Linked DNA regions of Homo sapiens: region 2 is linked to region 1. Evidence: promoter capture Hi-C in 16 types of primary human blood cells and fetal thymus (Javierre and others, 2016). All regions are on one chromosome and are shown on one strand. Each heading gives the region's core, a stretch centred on a gene start or on the middle of the fragment in contact. The rest is flanking DNA. Distances are from core to core; before and after follow the strand shown. Region 1 holds the start of PPIG (peptidylprolyl isomerase G). Region 2 holds the start of R3HDM1 (R3H domain containing 1).

Region 1 (3,980 bases), core at 429-2,928:
TGTTTCTGCATTAGTTTGCTAAGGATAATGGTCTCCAGCTCCATCCATGTTCCTGCGAAGGGCATGAGATCATTCTTTTTCATGGCTGCATAGTATTCCATGGAGTATATGTACCACATTTTCTTTATCAAGTCTACCATTGATGGACATTTAGGTTGACTCCATGTCTTCGCTATTGTGAATAGTGTGGCAATGAACATACATATGTGTATGTCTTTATAACAGAACAACTTATATTCCTTTGGGTATATACCCAGTAATGTGATTGCTGGGTCAAATGGTATTTCTGCCTCTAGGTCTTTGAGGAATCGCCACGCTGTCTTCCACAATAGTTGAATTCATTTAAACTCCCACCAGCACTGTAAAATGTTCCTTTTTCTCCACAACCTCACCAGCACCTGTTATTTTTTGACTTTTTAATAATAGCCATTCTGACTGGTATGAGATAGTATCTCACTGCGGTTTTGATTTGCATTTTTCTGATGATTGGTGGTGTTGAGCTTTTTCATTATGATTGTTGGCTGCAAGTATGTCTTCTTTCGAAAAGCGTTGGCCGGGCGTGGTGGCTCACACCTGTAATCCCGGCACTTTGGGAGGCCAAGGAGGACGGATCACCTGAGGTTGGGAGTTTGAGACCAGCCTGACCTACATGGAGAAACCCTGTCTCTACTAAAAATACAAAAAATTAGCCAGGCCAGTCTGTGGCCCAGGGGTTGGGGACCCCTGTTTTAAGGTATTGCAGAATTGTCCCCTCCACACACAGCGAAGTGTAAATCCGTTTAATCTCTGAACTATCTAAAGATGAATATGCTGCTGCTCTCCTGCAATAAAGGGCAATGACTTAAAAGAGGTGGGGGTGGAGAGGCAGAAATGTCCTCTGTTTTACTGCTGTGTAAAACTGGTCACGCCCCTTAGAAGCACCACCACATGCCTAACTGTTGTTGATAATTAATTTACCTGATGCAAGTGAGTGAAAAATTTAAATGATCATAATTTACGTTGCCTTTAAACGACAGAACAATTTAAGTCCTCTAGTTAGCTAGTTCCTTTAAAACACACCCCACATCCCTACCAGAATCACTGCCCATCCCCCCCCACCCCCCCGCCCAAACAGCAATGGTTATTTATTTCTAACATAATCCGGGGACCCTTGCCCCTTAAAATAATTAAATAATATATGCCATATTTTCTCTAGAAGGCACTAGATTTGGCATCAAAAGACTTGCTTTGGCATTCAAGAACAGTGTGTTTGAGGAGGAGGCGTTTATCTTCCCTGAGCCTCAATTTCTTTATCTGTAAAACAACAAAGAACATCAAAGCTCTTTGTAATTTCTTCCTCTTTCCTCAAATAACACTTTGCTCATTACTGCGTTTTTAGAACTTATATCCTAGCGTTAAGTGGAAGCTTAACTGGAAGCTCCATGAAGGTAGGCCTTCCTTTCTGATAACCTAGCGTAAGATCAATAAATGTTTATTAAATGAGGCACTTTACTTCACAAAGGATATGGCATTTTAACGGTTACAAGCGTTCCCAGTCAACGCATCCACAAAGCATTAGGCCACCTATAAACTAGGAATTTAAAAGGCACCAAAATCCTAGAAGTCCTAGGAGGGCGTGGTGACGCAAGCAGGTGAACGCTGGCCGATGCTGACAACCCACTCCTGACGCGCTTCCGGTGCGACGCTGTCTCTCCATGCCAGGACTGAGTTGTGGGGGAGGGAGGCGGTTAGCGGGCTTTAGCGCCTTTTCTGGCGGCGGTAGATTTGAAGCGCTTCAAAGGACCGGACCCAGAGAAGAGGAAAACTCTACCGGTGCAGGTAAGTGGTATGAGGCTCAAGTTGTTCTGGCGGCGTCATTTCAGCAGTCCCTGCGTACGAAAGCGGGAAGGGCCTGGGAAGAGGGGCGGAGCCGGCGCGGCTGACCGGGTTGGGTTTACCGTCTTTCCCTCGAGGTATCGGGGCTGCTTGGGCCCAGAGGAAGTCCCTGAGGACCGCAGCAGTGCCTTTGCCGCTGTTGCAGAAGGAGAAGGCTTGCAGTCGAGCCCCGGGGCCTGGGGACGGTCCTTCCTCTGCCAGCCCCCGCCCTCCCCACTCAGGCGCACACCTCCCTCACTGACGCATTTTGCCGCACAAGCTGTAACATGGCGGCAGCGACTGCGGCCTGAACTCTAGGGAGCCGGGTTGATTTTTAAAGCTTCAAAATCCTAAGACTCAGCACTGTTGCGGGGTAGGTGGCGGGACTGGTGGGGAAGGGGGAGACAGCCTGACGTCCTGTCAGGCTAGGGTTGGAGAGTGACGGGCGAAGAGCCTGAATCACAGGGATTAAAATTGAAGACTAGCTTTCCTCCTCTTTCGACCTTTTCCTCTCACAGCACAGTGGCTGTCGTGCAGTTAAGTGGCAGAGGCCACTTTGTTAAGCATTTTTCTAAAACTCAAGTCCAGGGTCTTGAGCTCTCGCGAAGTTCCCCCGTGTTTCGGAGGAGCTGTGAGCTGCGCAGGCCTTTTAGGAGGAGATAATTACTCTTTAGGAGGAAGATGATGATTTCGGGGCTCAGTATGCCTGAAGGGGAAGTATGCTAATTTGGTTCTTGGTTAGTCTTTTTTTTTGAGACGGAGTCTCGCTCTGTCGCCTAGGCTGGAATGCAGTGGCGCGATCTTGGCTCACTGCAACCTCCGCCTCCTGGGTTCAAGTGATTCTTCTGCCTCAGCCTCCCAAGTAGCTGGGACTACAGGCACGTGCCACCATGCCCGGCTAATTTTTTGTGTTTTTAGTAGAGACGGGTTTTCACCGTGTTAGCCAGGATGGTCGATCTCCTGACCTCGTGATCCGCCCACCTCGGCCTCCCAAAGTGCTGGGATTACAGGCGAGAGCCACCGCGCACGGCCAGCTCATGTTTAGTCTTAAGGAGCAAAGTCTAGATGTGCTGGCAAGGAGTATGCACAATCGTTTTGGAAATGCTATAAAAGCACCATTTTGTGCATTGATTTTAATTTCTTTCCACGATAGCCCTTTCTGTGTGTAACCAACATTTTGCAGTAGTGAACACAAATACAAAAGTATTTGCTTTTATAGTTTGGTACTAACATAGTTGTCCAAAGAACAATTAGATGTTTTAGAAATTAGGGGGGCCTGATATTAACTTTCAGTAGTTAAAACCAGGAAAAAAGAGTGAGTGTGTGTGTGTGTCGGTCACACACACGTTTTTGTCTTTGTGTATTCCCATTTGGTAACAGGATGGCCGGTAATTGCTACTTTGTAACAATGACGGGTGGGGGGGTGAACATTTTATAAATTTTGAAATCGTGCTATAAAATCCAGAAAAGATACATTTAGAATGGCTGCTTCTCTCCTGTTTTTAATATATCCTGAAAATTTACCCGTTTTAGCACTCCCCTTTTTTTTATGTTAACGAGTTGGGACAGAATTATTTCTGTAACAAATTACATGGTTCTGTGTCTTAAACAAGAGTTCATTGTACATTGTTTGACTATTTCTTTATGATTCAGAATTATTGATGCTCTGAGATCCTATAGGGTCTTGTAGTAGGATTCTGCGCATTTGAATTGTTGGTTTCCTTTTTAAGGCTTTTCTAGGCAGTCAGTTGTCAGGAGTGCTCCTGCTGTCAGGAGTGTATAAGTATGTAAACTTCTTAGGTTAGAAAAATTTGGACTTTCTGGCCCAATTATCTTTCTGAGCTTCAGTTTCTTCACCTACCTGCAAAATGACATTTTGATCTCCACCTTCCATCAACTGTGGGCTTGAAAATTAAATACTCAGCTTTGTTAAAATTGTGTGTGAAGTTGGCTTTCATTAACTCAGTGGTTCCTTTATGGGTGAAGAGTGTTCATTACATTTATTTTTAACCATATAGTCGATTTACTGTGGTGCTTATTATTGTGGTCTTGCAGTATTGGTGACTTCTACATATTTTTGATATTTTGCCTTAAATTAGATTTTCTGTGAGGCAGCATCCTCTTCT
Region 2 (3,980 bases), core at 408-2,907, about 34 Mb before region 1:
ATAAATGGTCGTTACTCAAAGAGTGGTGATGGGGCCACTCTTGATTATCAATCCTTCAAACAGAAAAGCCCTTTTCTGTGACTCTTTTCCTTCCAAGCTGACTTTAGAAGTGTGTTTGTGGCCGGGCGCGGTGGCTCACGCCTGTAATCCCAGCACTTTGGGAGGCCAAGGTGGGCGGATCACGAGGTCAGGAGATCGAGACCATCCTGGCCAACATGGTGAAACCCCGTCTCTACTAAAAATACAAAAAATTAGCTGGGCTGAGTGGCGCGCGCCTGTAATCCCAGCTACTCCGGAGGCTGAGACAGGAGAATGGCGTGAATCAGTGAGCCAAGATCCCACCACTGCACTCCAGCCTGGGGACAGAGCAAGACTCCGTCTCAAAAAAAAAAAAAAAAAGTGTGTCTGTAAATGTAGTTCAGAACTTCGGAGCCCTGTCTTTACAGTTCAAACTGACCACGCGAAGACTAAAGGCAGTAGAGGTACTTTCTACAAATTTAGCCGTGCAATCTAATAGCGAGCAGGCCGAGACGCCCGCGATTGAAGGCCGGGGTGGAGAAAGTAATAAGGGCCCTGGAAATTACCCCCATCCCATGTCACCCACTCTTTCTTAAAATGCCATTAAATTCCGTTCAACTTTTTATCTCCCATGCAAGAAACTAGCGACTTGCCAGCCACGCCACTTCCAGCCAGTCACACCTGGCGTATTCGCCGCAGAATCTCCAACTCCCGCCACAGGTTTGGGACGTGTCCGCCCCTAAGCGGAAGTGACGTTCAACGGGACAACGTGAAAGTAGATGAGTTTAAATACGTACTAATAATTTAAAACCCCTATGGTATTTTGAGGAAACTCTTCCGGCTACCCTTCTTCCATCACTTCTCTCCCGTTAGGGTTGCGAAAAGGGCTCTGTACAGCCTCGCGACAACTCGTTCTCCGCCCTAATTTCAAGTCATTCAAAACTCTGTCCCTTTTCATTGGCTGAAGCGGCGGCATGGGTACCTCTCAGGAACTACAATTCCAGCCAAGCACCGCGACAAGTGAACGGAGGAGAAGTTATGAGTAGGGGAAAAGCATGTTGGGAATCGTAGTCCGCTCCAGGCCGAAAAGAGCAATCACCCCGCCCTCCGCCACTGAAGCTGGAGAAACCAGGTGTTCGTTTCAGAACCCGTTAGCGCTAAGGGGAGGAGCCAACCCCTTAAGCAGCATGCCTCACTTCGCCCCACATGGAGGATAATTTTCCTTTACCCCTAAAAAGCACTATAAATACCCACTGAGGAGATCTGGTTGTCTTTTAAATACCTCGAGTCAGTAAAAACTCACGAAACTCCGCACCTCAGGCTCCAACTCGTGGGAAAAGGTAGCTCTTTTACAAGTGGGCAAAATGGCTGTCCTCCTAGTTTTACCATTGGTTGGCTTTTGCGTCCTTCAAGGGCGGTTACTTACCACGGATTGGTTCTTTTTCTCTTGAGGTTGGAGGAAGATTTGGCACGGCTCTCCGCGGCCTGGGAGGAGGTAAAGGGGTGGAGAGAAGACAGTTTTTTTCAAGCTTGATTGGGCAAAACTCATGTCACTCCGGGGACGTACAACCTATGAATAGTCGGCTGCCGCTCAAAGAGAACGAAGAGGCGGGGCTAGTGCGTGGTGGGAAGGGGCGGGATTCTGCCAGCCGCGGCTGCCGCTGGAGCCGGTGTCCGGGCTGGTGATGGGGTTAATTCCCTTTCGTAAGACTCTTACTTGCACCCACCCAGCCCCGCCGTCGCCCCGCCGCGCCGCGCTCCAACCGCCTCCTCCTCCTCAGTAACGCGGGTAAGAGATGCCCTTCCCTCCCCCGTCCAGCTCCCCGGGAATAACGCGCCTTGCTCCCCTCCCCCGCCCGCCAACCGGTAGCGCTAACGGAGAAGGAGGCAGGCAGGGGAGAGATGTGGTGTGTGGAAAGGTGGCCTTCCCCGCCGGGTCGTCGGCGCTTCAGCCAGGGCCTTCTGACGTCCCGCTGCTGCCAGCCCGCCGTTAGGTCGGGTTCCGAGTGAGCCAGGCTCGCCTGGCCCGCGGCTGCGGCTCCGGCTGCAGCTGCAGCCACTGCCTTGTGCCCACCGCCCCCACCCGGGGGCCATGTGAAAAGCAAACCCCTCGAGGCCTAGCGGAGGAGGCAGGGGAAAGGTTTCCGAGTCCCTGCCATGGCTGCTGCTGCTGCCTCCGCGGCTGCTCTTGCAGCCCCAGGGACTCGGGAGCCAGCCACAGCAGGCCTGCCAAGAGCGTGGTACTGCTCTCTCGTGTGGCTGGCGCCGGTGCCCCGGGCTCCCCCGGCCGCCCCACGGCCGCATCCCCTGGCCTTGCACCAAGAGAATTTTCAGCTTCGACCGGTTGGTAAAATGTAGGTACATTTTCCCTGTGGTACCAGAAAAAGCACAATGGGAATATTAAAAAGAAAGTTGAATGACTGTCAGTGCCACGGTCCCCCGGGATCAGATTTACACACGTTTTGATTCCTGAGCCTTAGGCTGCCAACAAATCTTTGTGGGCTTTGAAGTTTTTTGGTGTTTTGTTTTCTTTTGTTGCTGTGACTAGGTGCAAAGGGTGACTCTGTTGAGCTTGTTTTTATAAAGAAACTTAAATTATTGGGACTATCATGCTCCGTGTGTAATTGTCCTGGGATAGTTAAGTAAAAGGTGAAGAAGAGGTGCTTTCCAAATTAGGATTAGTGAACAGCAAATGGTTTTTCTAATAAAATTTTCTAAATATATATATATATATCTTCATGGTTATAGTTTACCTAATTGTAACTGTAAGAAACCTTTTTTAGCTTAAATATCATTGATGACAAAAACTTTTAAATGAAAAGATGATTAAAGTCAAACTGAAAGTCTACCCATTTATAATATGTGAAACAAGATCTTCTAAGTAATAGGATACCAGTCTGACAGGAATAATTGGACACGTCTCAATTTCTAAAAATTTGGCATATTTGGCTATTTTTAGGGCATTCTGTTATGATTTCTTCATCACATTTTGATGGAGTACGCTCGTCTTTTCAAATACCACTCTGCTTTTATGCCTGGAAGAATATGTCTTTAAATCATGGATTCTATAGTCTGTAGTAGACATAACTGTGATCAGAGATAAAATTCTAGGCCCATTTCTGAGGTTTACTTGTTAGCAGAATAAACTTGGGTTCTGAGGAAACATCTGAGTTTTGATCATTTCTTCAGGGTTTGAGAAGACTATGGTGGCTTAATGATCTTCTGTATTCCATAACTAGTACACCTAGTTACAGAATTGACATAGATACATTCAGGTCCTGGAGGAAATTTGTGGTATCTATTAAAAAAATGAAAATTGCCAGTCATGTAGTAGTCACCTGTAGTCCCTGCTACTCAGGAGTGTGAGGTGAGAGGATCACTTGAGCCCAGGAGTTCAAGGCCAGCCTAGGCAATATAGCAGAACATGGTCTCAAAAAAATAAAGAAATAAATACACAGCCTTGGAAGGCAAGTCCCCTGAGATCCCCACAGAGTTCCTGTAACATATATTGCCAGCTGCCAGCATAGTATTTTCCAGAACTTAAGAGTTAATTGATAAATTATACAATCGATACTTTCAGATCTTGGGTGATTTATATAGAGAAAGAGCTGTTGAAAATTTAGGAGTCTTCTACATTTTCTTCCTGGCTGTTGGATCCCTCCATGAACCTCAGTTCGGTTTCCTCATCTGTAAAATGAGGATGATAATGCTTAACTTAGGGAGTTATGAAAATTAGAGATAAATATATAATAGTGGCCGGGCGCGTTGGCGCACCTGTAATCCCAGCACTTTGGGAGGCTGGGCGGGCGGATCACCTGAGGTCGGGAGTTGGAGACCAGCCTGACCAACATGGAGAAACCCCGTCTCTACTGAAAATACAAAAAATTAGTCGCTCATGGTGGCGGGCACCTGTAATCTCAGCTACTCGGGAGGCTGAGACAGGAGAATCGCTTGAACCTGGG

The links. The method cuts DNA at HindIII sites, captures the fragments that hold promoters and counts their contacts. A CHiCAGO score of 5 or more calls a contact.
Region 2: a contact is called between the fragment with the promoter of R3HDM1 here and the fragment with the promoter of PPIG in region 1, in 2 of 17 cell types (fetal thymus and total B cells). The highest score is 7.6, in fetal thymus.

The regions. Positions count from the first base shown.
Region 1 is chr2:169,582,673-169,586,652 of GRCh38, forward strand. It overlaps PPIG (peptidylprolyl isomerase G), which reads left to right and starts at 1,679. Exons shown (of 14, transcript NM_004792.3): 1 at 1,679-1,818. RefSeq lists an enhancer at 1,595-1,644. The HindIII fragment of the contact is 789 bases long and covers 1,404-2,192 here.
Region 2 is chr2:135,529,827-135,533,806 of GRCh38, forward strand. R3HDM1 (R3H domain containing 1) reads left to right here and starts at 1,658. Exons shown (of 27, transcript NM_001378107.1): 1 at 1,658-1,807. It overlaps ZRANB3 (zinc finger RANBP2-type containing 3), which reads right to left and starts at 1,392. Exons shown (of 21, transcript NM_032143.4): 1 at 1,301-1,392. RefSeq lists enhancers at 705-784, 1,135-1,404, 1,373-1,667 and a silencer at 1,635-1,824. The HindIII fragment of the contact is 3,394 bases long and covers 1,546-3,980 here.